Linked DNA regions of Homo sapiens: all the other regions are linked to region 4. Evidence: promoter capture Hi-C in 16 types of primary human blood cells and fetal thymus (Javierre and others, 2016). All regions are on one chromosome and are shown on one strand. The core of a region is centred on a gene start or on the middle of the fragment in contact, and the rest is flanking DNA. Distances in the headings are between cores, read along the strand shown. Region 1 overlaps LOC124905135 (collagen alpha-1(III) chain-like). Region 2 has its middle 12 kb from the start of MIRLET7B. Region 3 has its middle 22 kb from the start of LINC00899. Region 4 holds the start of PKDREJ (polycystin family receptor for egg jelly).

Region 1 (2,802 bases), core at 72-2,571, 200 kb before region 4:
ATTGGGGATGGATGATACACGTAGCAGAAGTATTCGTTAGACCAACAAATAGGAATAGTAAGTCAATATTGTTCTTTCTTTAATAAAAGATTTATATGTTGGTAGCTTATTAATCCAATACTATGTGAGTTTTCTAACCAAACACATATACTTGTACGCCAGGGCAGAAAAATCTCAATTAAGATTTTGTGTGGACTCGGGAAGTGTTTTTGTTCCCTAAACAATAGCCTTAAGAAGGGTGGAAAAAGGCCCGTCTTCTTCTTGGATCCTTGGTTGGGTGACAACCCTCCGGTGGTGAGACATGGTGCCTGATTTTCAGTTGGGGCTTTCTGCTTCCCCTGTTTGGTTTTCTAGGGACAATTTAAAAGATTCTGCAAGTTAATTACTGGAGAAGTCCGTAGATCCTGGATTCATAGTATCAGATTAATTGTGGTCTTTGAGTGGGAATCCTAGTGGTTTATTTAGACTCATCAGTTGTCTTATTCTTTTTTTTAAAAAGAAAGAAAACATTTATTTTCGTAAGCTTGTATTGCCCTTAAAATATTTCTCTGCACTCTTAGGTCACCTGCCTATTCACGCCAGGAGCGCATCGCTTGCGTTAAGAGACTAGAAGTTTCTTTCTTAACCATAATGTGCCAGGATTTTGTTATACGGAAAAATCTGTCCGTGTTTCCAACTAATATTTCCTAGCCTTCAGGCAAGTGCGACTTGCTTCACTGTAAAATGGATTCCCAGGACCTGCCGTATCGGGACGGGCAGAATTCTTTAAAATGCAGTGCCCCGGGCAACCCCATCACTTCCCGGCTGGCTCCGGGCGGTCCCGGGCTGCCCGCCGGCCGCAGAGCCCCCTCTCCCGGGCCCGCCCGGCCGGAGCCTCAGTTTCCCCGGCAGAGCGGGGCGGAGGCGAGGCTGGGGACGCTCGGGCGGCGGGGAAGGGGCCGACTCGGCCAGGCGCGCCCGGCTGGGAGGTCCCGCGGGCCCTGGAGCCTCCCGCAGCCCGCCTGGGCCTCCGGGGCGCGACCCCCTAATCCGCTTTAGTCAATATCTTATGAGCTCCGCTTGGGCAAAGTAAACAGGCGCCGAACAAAGCGGCGGCCGCAGCCCGCGACTCCTGACCCCGGGGTCGCGCCCTTTGTTCGCCCTCAATGGGGCAGCCCCGCCGCCCGGCCTGCGGCTAATTGGGGCGCGTGCCGCCGCCTCTGCCCGGACCGCACCCTGGACTCTGCCTGGGACGCGCCCTCGGACGCAGGCCCCGGACCCGCCCGCCAACTCCGACCCGACCCCGGCCTGGGACCCCGGCTCGAACCCTCGTCCCTGCCCAGGCGGACCCCGGCCCCGGCCCGGACCCTCTGCAGCGGCTCCGGGCCCAGGCTCCGACTCCAGGCCTCGGTTCGAACCCTGGGGACCCGCCCCGCCCCGCTGCAGACCGGCCTCCCCGCCCGCCGCGGACCCCGAGCCTCAGGCCTGGTGCCGGACTCGGCCCTGCCTCGCGTGCCCGCCCTGGGGCTGCCTGGAGGAGGCGCACCGAGGCCTCCCTGCCTTCAGAGCCGCTGCGGGCCTGGGCCCTGTGTCCCCCCAGGTCCGCAGCTGGCCGGCTGAAACTGGCCCGCACCTCCCGCCCCGGGGCCGGGTGCTCCTGGTCCGCGCAAGGTCCCCACGCACTCCCGCGGCCACGTGGGTGCCTGTCCCCTGGAGCGGGGTTGGGGGAGGCCGCAGAGACACTGCTCCCGGGGTCCCTGTGCAGGCCCCGTAAGGATTTCAGACAGCCGTGATGCAGAGGAGACGTGTATTAGTTCTTGTTTTTCTTTTTCTGCTCTTTATTTCTGCTTGGAAGCCTGTCACACGGGAAAGAAAAGACGCTCCATCTATGCGAACCCCACTCCCCTGGTGAGGGAAGCCGGAACCCTTCAGACCCTCTGCACGTGGGCTCCCTCCCCGACAACCTCTTTTTCCTCCACATCACAACCTTTCCAGCACCTGGGAACGGTTCTAGGCCAGAGGAGGATGCTGAGGCCATGAATGCATCCGTTGACACGAAATTCAGGCCTTGACCATTTCACGTCTTTCTGTTCTTCGTTTTTTCCTCAAATGTTGGACAAGGTTATAATGTTTATCCCAAGAAGCTTTTGAGACTTAGCACTTGTAATTTTCGTAAGGGTTCTGTTTGATTTTTAAAAAGGTACTTTCTTTTGTAATTAGGTGCAAAAAGGAAAGCACAGAAAGGACTCTTCTTGAAAGCCTTTGCCTCCAAAGATGAGCAGAAAGGCTTCCAGTTCCTGGCACCGCCAGGCAAGGCCCTCTACCTGATTCTCACTTATTTCAGTTTTGTTCACCAGCTGTAAATACTGCTAGGCTTTGCCAGGAAGACTTTTTTTTTTTTATGTTGAGTTTGTTTTTGAGCTTGTTGATTGCACGGTGGAATATTCTAACGTGGAATTTGGCTTTGGGAAGACTTGGTGTTCAGGAGTTGTCGGATATGCCCTGCTGTTGTGAGGATGGAGCTGGGTAGGGGTCCTGCCGTGGGCCATGAGTGGGGGTAGGCAGGTGTGGCCGTCACCTTCTGGGTGTGCGGTGCAGATCTCCACCTGGGAAGGAAAGCCCTTGGGAGACATGCCTTGTGATTCTTGCCTTTCATAGAATGACTGCCAAATAGCCCGGTGCCTCTTTACTCGCCTGCCTCGTTCCTGTGCATCCCTCCTGAGGTCACCACTTCTATGTAGCCTTTCTCCTTTCTGAGGAGCAATAATCCAATCTGATCAGTGTAAGTTTGCCTCCGTGGAATGCTGATGCCCAGGCTGGGGA
Region 2 (2,806 bases), core at 190-2,689, 140 kb before region 4:
CCATCCTGTCACCCCATCCCACCTGCCAGCTTCTGCTCACACCAACACCAGGCCTGGTGTTATGCAGGGCTGCCTCACAGACTGTGACATCTGACCTCCCCAACTTAATGATGAGGAAACTGAGGTGAAGGGAGGCAGAGAAACCTTCCCAAGGTCCCACAGCCTAGAAGATGCCCGTCAGGAGCGCCCGAGGCCCCGACACACTTGCACAAACAGGCACACCCAGCCTCACCTCCACCAGCCCCAGAGGCTTCCTGGCCACTGGCTGTCCTCTGTGCCCCTGTACTTGTACCCAGACATCCCCAAGTCCTGGCATCATGGGCACTTGTGGATAGCTGGAGGCGGAGGGGCTCGTGGCCCGGTGCAGCCTTGACTGCAGACTGGCCGTGACAGAATGACCATTGCCTCAAGCGATCAGCGTGGTGGTGCAGCCCTCAAAACTCTTATCTCCTTCAACACATGGCATGGGCCAGGAACAGTTCAGTCAAGGGAGGAATGCCCAGGGCCTTGGGAGCATGGGATAGGAGGGAGGACCCAGACAGTGTGGGGTGAGGGGAAGGCAAGGGGGATGAGCTCATGGAGAACTTCCTGGGGCACGGAAGTCCTGAGTTGGGTTTTGCAGGATGAGTAGGAGTTTGCCAGAGTAGGAAAAGCAGTGAGAAGCCCCAAATCCACACTCTGTGACTGTGTGTTTGTCATGGAGCCTGTGAGTGTTGCTATGTGGTATACTGATGGGATGGGAGGGCAACAGACTCTGTGGGCACCAGGGAGCACCCACCCCTGAAGAAGCAAGTCCTTCCTAGAGTCAGACACGGAATTTGTGGGGAAGCATTAGTTTCAGGGGATAGAAACCCAAACCAAATTAGCGCAGGCCCAGAAGAGGATTTATTTGTTTATATAACATAAAAATCCAGGAATTGGTACAGCTTCAGGCGTGGCTGGATCGAAGGGTGCTTCCCCTCAGGGCTTCTACCACACGGGCCCCAGCCTCAGCAGGGTCCCCATGAGGCAGTAGAGCCTGCCGTTCCTCCATCCCGCTAGCTCCCACCAGTGCAAAGCTCTCTCTCCCCCTTTCCAAACAACCCCACAAAAGTTGCCAGGTAACCTCTGGCTGGCGGGGCTTTGGGTCAAATGCTCAGCCCTGAGCCAATGACTGAGGGTTCCCACTGGAGGGGCAGTGGGAGAGACAGGGGACACCCAGTGGGTGGAGCCGGCAGCTGCTCCTGGGGCTCACCGTGGAGTCCAGTGGAACGGGCACCATGCAGCAGGCTCCTTGGAGCAACCTAGAGCTGTGGAGAAGCAAGATGGCACCTGTGGCTTGGTGGGCTGGAGATTCACCTTCTGTCCCCAGAGCCAAGGACAAGCTCGTCTGAACACAGCCTCACCAGGGCTCAGCTCTGCATGGGGGCTGAGGGTCAGGTCTACGGCCCCACTGGCCAGAGTGTTGGGAAGGGGACAGCACCCACTGCAAGGCCAGGCCAGCGTGGACCTGGCAGTGACCCCTGGGCGGGCCATGTGCCCTCCCACCTGTCTCAGAGTATCGCCTGAGAGTGGCGTCTTCCACCCTCTGACCGCCATGGCTCCACAGGCAGCCCGCAAGAGCCTCCAGCCTCTGGCAGCCCTGGACCAGACCTTGGTAACACCTGCCCCATTCTACACAGCCGAACCAAGGCACTGAGCGCTCAGGAGCCCAGAGGAAGCCTGGTGGCTGTGAGCCGGGCCGGCTGGCTCATTCAGCCCAGGCCCCACCCGCCCTGGGATGATCTGGACCCCGGCCCTGCTCTCAGCTCTCAATGCTCCCTTCCCAGATGAGCCAAGACGTCCCATGCAGACGGACACCTTCCCCAAGTGCCCGTCCCGGCGCTGCACAGCCCACGCCCTGCTGTCCCGGGGAGCAGCATCTTCCACCAGGCTCAGTGTCCTCTCTTGGGGGCACTGGAAGGGCTGGGCAGGCTGCAGCTGGCCCTGGCCCAGAAGGGGCCAGGAGAATGTTCCAGTCTTGAGGCTCACAGCAGGTAGGACAGAGGCTCGGTGGCACCAGCCCACACACCCCTGGCCGCGGTGCTCACTGCTGCCCCGCAGCCATGCTCCCGGCCCCTGGTTCTGCTGTCACTCCCTGTGTGATCTCAGGGTGTGTTGTCACCAGCCACACCCTGAGATCCATTCTGAACCTCTCCATGGAAGGCTGGGTTGGAGGGGTGACGGCACAAGGCCTTCCACAAGGCAGGCGCCCAAGTCACATGTGGGGCTCAGCCCAGCCCCACAGACAAGAGGCGTGTCTGTGACCCATGAGTTCAGAACCTCGTCGTGTGCCCTGGGCCGCCGCCCCAGGAGAAAGGTCAGGAGTGTTTTGCAGAGACCTGCCCGGAAAGGCTGGAGCTCGGCACAGGCTGCTCCTCCCTGCCCAGGGGCCCCTCCCCCGAGGTTCCCCCACCCCCACCTTGGCATCTCAGTGCCACCACACTGAGTGACACACCAGTGAGTCTCAGAAGAGCCCTGTACAGACAATGAGACCCACAAGTACACAGATGACGACTGCCATGTGGCTGCCAGAGAGAGCCACGCTGTGGGTCTGGCCGGAACCTCTTTCCTTTGTGCACCTGTGCCCAGCCCATGCACAACGCAGAGCTGACACCAAGTGAGCATCTGTCACTAAGTGAGGCAGGCAAATGAGGTAACACTCAATCTGGGCTTTGAAGGATGAGTAGGAGTTCCCGGAGGAGAAAAAGAGAGGCCCTTCCCAAGTGGAGGACGCAACAGGCGCAGAGGCCTGAAGGTGGCGGGAGCTCTGTGTATCCTCCTGCTG
Region 3 (3,007 bases), core at 479-2,978, 240 kb before region 4:
AAAGAGGAAGGCGAGGGCCCTGCCACTGCCACACAGCCTAGGCCCATGGAAGTGCTCATCTGGAATTGTGGTGGAGGATTGAGATGAGGTTATCGATCACGACCTCAGACCAGCTGCAGCAGTGGAGACTATAGCTTGTTCCACTAATAATCGTGTTTTAAGAACTTACAGATCTTGCTGCTGGCTGCCACCTTGAAGGGAACTCTGTGGCAGACTAGACATCATCAAAGACTCACATGCACATGTGAGGGAGGCAAGGGGTGGACTACACCAGGCCCCTCTTGTGCTCCACTTCAAGGTCCTCTCAACCCCAACTCCAGCCATTCCCACCACAGCCGGTCTTACAGTGGCTTCATCCAGCTTCATGTGGGTGCCAGCAGCCAGACAGTGCCTTGCCTTGGGCCCATGCTGGAGATCTCTTGCTTCCTGTCCAGGTGCTTCTCTGAATATGCGACTTAGTGGTCCTGGTGGAGCCCTCTGCAGTCACACTCGTGCAACATGGGAATGCTGGAAGTTAATGTCTACAGAACCACCTTGACTGGTGGCAAGTTGAGCTGATGGAGAAATGCTCTCTTTCTTCTCACAGGTGGTCAGTTCTGAGATATATTTCATGAGATCCCCCAGAAACCCCCGTCAGGAGCAGGTATGAGCCTCCTGCAGCTGTGACTGACTCAGTGAAACGTCCTTGTATTGGTTTTCCCAGGAATCTCATTTCCAGCTGAAATGTCTGCAGACAAGTCTTTGTCTCAAGCTTTGCTTCCAAGGAAACCAGACTATGGTACGCGCCATTGTGGAAAGACAGAGTACAAAAAAATGAACTCACAAATTTAAATTAACTATAATAAGTGTTATGGAGAAATAATACAGGGTGATGTAATGGGAGTATAACTGTGAATCTGTGCCATCTAATATGGTAGCCACTAGCCACGTGTTAGTATTTAAATATAAATGCAGGCTGGGCGCGGGGCAGTGGCTCACACCTGTAATCCCAACAGTTTGGGAGGCCAAGGTAGGTGAATCATTTGAGGTCAGGAGTTCAAGACCAGCCTGGCCAACATGGTGAAACCCCATCTCTACTAAAAATAAAAAAATTAGCTGGGTGGTGGTGACGCGCACCTGTAATCCCAGCCACTTGGGAGGTTGAGGCAGGAGAATCACTTGAGCCTGGGAGGCGGAGGTTGCGGTGAGCCAAGATCACACCACTGCACTCCAGTCTGGGCAACAGAGTGAGACCCTGTCTCAAAAATAAATAAATATAAATGCAAATTAATTAAAATTAAATGAAATTTAAAATTCAGCTCCTGGGTCACACGAGCCACATTTCAAGTATTTAACAGTCCCATGCATTTAGTAGCTGTCTCACTAGAAAGTCCAGATATGGAACATTTCAAGCACACAGAAATGTCTGTTGGACAGTACTGCTCTGATTTAGCCAATGCCTGCTGCTTTGTACTAGATTGTAAGCACAGAATAACAGAGTCGATATCTGTCTAATTTTACTTTCTGTCTCTAGAAAGTAGCACAGACACCAGCACAGAAGCAGACAGTAATCAAGTTTACAGAAAGAAGGCAGGAAGGGAGAGAGAGAGAGACAGGAGAGATGAAGAAGGAGGAGAAGAAAGGAGGAAGGGAAGGAAGGAGGAAAAGGAGGGGAAGGGAAGGGAAGAGAAGGGAAGGGAAGGGAAGAAAGGAAGGAAGAAAAGGAGGGAGAGAGGGAGGGAATAAGGCAGAAAGGAAGCCCCCAGCCCATCCACATGGAGCAGTTTGCAGTTTGGGACCTCAGGCCTGGCGAACAGAAGTACAGAGCACAGGTCAAAACAGCCTGGGTGTGGAGGGAGGGAGACTCCAGGATGCTAGCGTTTACTAAGCACTTACTATGTGCCCGGCACCGTCCTAATTCCTAATTCCCTGCAGTTTCCACATTACACCCTACGATTGTTATCCGATTTCACACAGAAGGAAACTGAGGCTGGAGAGGTGAAACAGCTTGTCTAGGCACACGGGACCATGAGTAGCAAGCCAGGGTCAAGCCAGGCAGGCGGCTCCAGGGCTGGTTCCTTCCCCTCGCACCACTGAGGTCAAAGGTGGGAGGATGCCGTGAAACAGAGGCCGAGTGTCCACACTCCCTTCCTTCTCTCCTGGGCCCGGAAACCTCTAAGACTTTGCCAATACCCTCTGGTCAGCCCCCACCAGCCCTGGCAGCTGCCCACTGAGCCAGCCCCTCTGCCCAAGGCCCCTCCCTGGGGCGATGGCAGCCAAGGGGGCAAGTCACATGGCTGCCAGCTGGAGCCCAGGCGGCCGATCCACACAGGAGCCCTGTCCGTGATGTCAGCACCACCAAAGCATCCTCATTAACCGCCCCCTGGGTGACGCAGCCCAGCTTTTCTGCGTGGGATGGGTGGGGGACTCACTGAGACCCAGGTGTTCGCAAGAAGCCAGGATGGAAAGTATGACTCGCTCCTTCCCAAACATGGGATGGCTTTTCCATTGCTAATATCCGAGGAATCCGGTGAAGTAGTGGAAAGACCGAGAAGGCGGGAGACTGGTTCTCACCCTGGCCCATCCTGGCTTTAGACCAGAAGCCCAGAGCCTCAGTCTCCCCTTCTGTCCACCAGAAACCACAGCCCTGTCCAGCTCCGACTCTCCAAGGTGCCCAGGTGTCAGTGAGGCTGACAACACAGCAGTCACCTCGGGGCTGCAGCCTTTTAAGCTTTTGTTTGTTTTCCAAGCATGTCTTTGGGAGTGAAGATCCATCAATCATGACATAAATTTCATTTCAGAAGTTATATTTTACTAGTAGGAGTACAAAGGACTCAAGAATTCAGAACTGGATCTCCCTCCCAGACACCCTCAGGATGTCCCAGCCTTGCCTCTGGAACAGCCAGACTTCCAGCAAAATGAGGACCCGGAAGCTGTGCTGCGGCCACCAGTACTGACTGTGCTTCAGGCTTGCTTGCTCCTCACCCACCCTGGGAGGTTGGTACTGCTGTTATTTCCATTTTACAGC
Region 4 (2,757 bases), core at 144-2,643:
GCTATGGCTTTTGGTCCTTGGAGCACGTGGACCCTCTTATCAGAAAACGCTGTCCTAGAGTCCTTCCGAATCACCATTCTGAAGAAATACACGTGGTCGCCTTTAAGTGTTTCTGGCAAAAGTGTCAGTACAGGGCCCGAGGCCCAGGGCCATTTCAGATTGGCCTGCTCGGGGTGACAGACTTCCTTGCTCCCCAGGATTATTCGATCCCCACCGTAGTTTCTGGGATCTGTGGTACAGTACCAAAAGAACTGGAGTCCCTGTAACGGGCTGTCCGCATCTGGGTCCGAGGACGTGGACCCGTCCAGAATCAGCTGCTCTGTGAAATTAGCTGTTATGTTGGCATCGCCAAGCATCACCGCCTGCAGGGAACTCCTGACGATCCAGACATAGACGGCGTCCGAGTCTTTCACCTCGGGCATCTTGGGGTTCCCTGTGGTGATGGACACCGTGAAATTAAACACATACACTCCCCACTGTAACGAATTATTGGGGATGTGAATGAACAAGGGGCTGTTCCTGATCTCGAGCTGGGGCAGATCCAAGGGCTGCGTCCAGTCGGGCGCCTGACCCACGGCGGGCACGGAGAACACCTGCCAGTACTGGGCGATGGCGCGCGCGGCCGGGCAGTCCAGCTGCACCGAGGCGTTGATGGTGGCCTCCGCCTGCATGCTCAGGCGCACGGGGGCGCCCTTCTGGTCCGTGTTGATCCTCACGCGCTGGATGACGCAGGCGTTTATCTGACAGGACACGGACGACTCGACGGCTCTGTGGCTGGACGAGTTGACGGCCTGCAACATCACGCGCGCGGGGCCGTCTGTGGGGCACTCGGTGCGGGCCACGAAGCCCTGCTGGGGCCGCGGGCCTGGCGCGGCGGAGCGCGGGGAGACGCGGGCCGCGGGGGAGGCCGGGCGGGCGGCGCCGGGTCCGAGCAGCCGCAGGCGGAAGGCCCAGGCCAGGCGCCCGGGCGAGCGCGGCAGCCGCACGGACCACGTCAGGGAGAGGCGGCCGCCGCGCGCGGAGAGCTGCAGGTCGACGAGCGCGAGCGCGGGCGCGGCCGGCCAGGGCAGGCGTTGGGCGCTGAGCAGGACGCGCAAGTCGAGGCAGTACCAGCGCCGCCCGGTCCCGCCATGGGGGAAGCAGAGGCTGCCGCGGCCGCTCAGGACAGCGCCGCCCGCCCGCACCGCGCTGGGCCGCAGACTGAGGAGGGCGCGGCCGCCGCGCACCCCGAGGCCCGGGGCGCCCCTGAGGAGGCCACCGGGCGCCCCGGAGACGGCGGCTTGTGCCCCGCGAGGAACCGGCGGCAGCGGGAGGCGGCCGACGCTCAGGCTCAGGCCCACGCCCAGAAGGAGGAGAGCGGGCCCAGGCCTCATGGCGCCGGCCCAGGAGAAGCTGGGAGAGGCCGCGAGGCGCGCCCAACCGCCACCGGGGTCGCGGGGATAGTGAGGGTCTTGGGGACAGTGGGGGTCTCGGGCGTCGAAGGGCGCTGGCAGAGGGGTCCCAGGGACAGAGTCCCAGAGAGCAGCTGGGACCTCGGAGCTTGGGGTCAGTCGGCACTGGGGACTTCTTGGGTACCTCTTCCCTCTCCGTCCCCAAGTGTGTGCAGGCCCAGGGTCAGGATGGCTCAGGAGGGCAGTTCAGCCCCGTGCAGACCACAGAGCTGACCACGGAGAAGGGGCTTCAGCAGGAACCCTTGGGAAAGCCAGTCACAAAATGGGAGATCAGGAGGGAACCGTGAGATCCCTGGGCGCCCAGGAAGGTCTGACTCTCGGTTTCTTACTTTGGGGTCGCTTTGCTCTTTTCTTTCTAGTTGGTTTGGGGGTTTTGTTTTTTGTTTGTTTGTTTGTTTGTTTGTTTTTTGAGACGGAGTCTCTGTCACCCAGGCTGGAGTGCAATGGCTTGACCTCAAGTGATCCACCCACCTCGGCCTCCCAAAGTGCTGGGATTACAGGCATGAGCCACTGTGCCTGGCCTCATTCTTTAACTCTGTCCATTTTTGCTGTATATTTTGGGACTTGATTGATGGATTGAATGATTTTAGAGACAGGGTCTTGCTCTGTTGCCCAGGCTGGAGTGCAATGGTGCAATCATAGCTGACTGTAACCTTGAACTCCTGGGCTCAAGGAATCCTCCTGCCTCAGCCTCCCATACTACAGGTCTACACCACTACACCTGACTGATTTATTTTTTATTTTTGTAGAGATGGTGTCTTGCTGTGTTTCACAGGCTGGTCTCAAACTCGTGGTCTTAATTGGCCCTCCCCTGTATTAGTCCGTTTTCATGCTGCTGATAAAGACATAACCAAGACTGGGAAGAAAAAGAGGTTTAATTGGACTTACAGTTCCATATGGCTGGGGAGGCCTCAGAATCATGGCAGGAGGCAAAAAGCACTTCTTGCATGGCAGTGGCAAGAGAAAATGAGGAAGACGCAAAAGCGGAAACCCCTGATAAAAGCATCAGATCTCCTGAGACTTATTCACTACCACAGAACAATATGGGGGAAACTGCCCCTGTGATTCAGTTATCTCCCACCCGGTCCCTCCCACAACATGTGGGAATTATGGGACTATAAGATGAGATTTGGGTGGGGACACAGAGCCAAACTATATCATTCCACCCCTGCCAAATCTCATCTCCTCACATTTCAAAACCAATCATGCCTTCCCAACAGTCCTCCAAAGTCTTAACTCATTTCACATTAACTCAAAAGTCCACAGTCCAAAGTCCTGTCTGAGACAAAGGAAGTCGCTTATGCTT

The links. The method cuts DNA at HindIII sites, captures the fragments that hold promoters and counts their contacts. A CHiCAGO score of 5 or more calls a contact.
Region 1: a contact is called between a fragment that was not itself captured here and the fragment with the promoter of PKDREJ in region 4, in 1 of 17 cell types (neutrophils). The highest score is 7.1, in neutrophils.
Region 2: a contact is called between a fragment that was not itself captured here and the fragment with the promoter of PKDREJ in region 4, in 8 of 17 cell types (erythroblasts, megakaryocytes, M0 macrophages and 5 more). The highest score is 15.0, in erythroblasts.
Region 3: a contact is called between a fragment that was not itself captured here and the fragment with the promoter of PKDREJ in region 4, in 1 of 17 cell types (neutrophils). The highest score is 5.6, in neutrophils.

The regions. Positions count from the first base shown.
Region 1 is chr22:46,060,474-46,063,275 of GRCh38, forward strand. All of the region lies in intron 1 of LOC124905135 (collagen alpha-1(III) chain-like), which reads left to right. Among named protein-coding and RNA genes, the nearest start is that of PRR34, 7.6 kb to the left of the region's middle. The HindIII fragment of the contact is 1,600 bases long and covers 522-2,121 here.
Region 2 is chr22:46,124,326-46,127,131 of GRCh38, forward strand. No RefSeq gene overlaps it. Among named protein-coding and RNA genes, the nearest start is that of MIRLET7B, 12 kb to the left of the region's middle. The HindIII fragment of the contact is 6,464 bases long and covers 1-2,806 here.
Region 3 is chr22:46,021,420-46,024,426 of GRCh38, forward strand. No RefSeq gene overlaps it. Among named protein-coding and RNA genes, the nearest start is that of LINC00899, 22 kb to the right of the region's middle. The HindIII fragment of the contact is 1,959 bases long and covers 750-2,708 here.
Region 4 is chr22:46,261,950-46,264,706 of GRCh38, forward strand. PKDREJ (polycystin family receptor for egg jelly) reads right to left here and starts at 1,394. Exons shown (of 1, transcript NM_006071.2): 1 at 1-1,394. The coding sequence starts at 1,373. The HindIII fragment of the contact is 7,014 bases long and covers 1-2,757 here.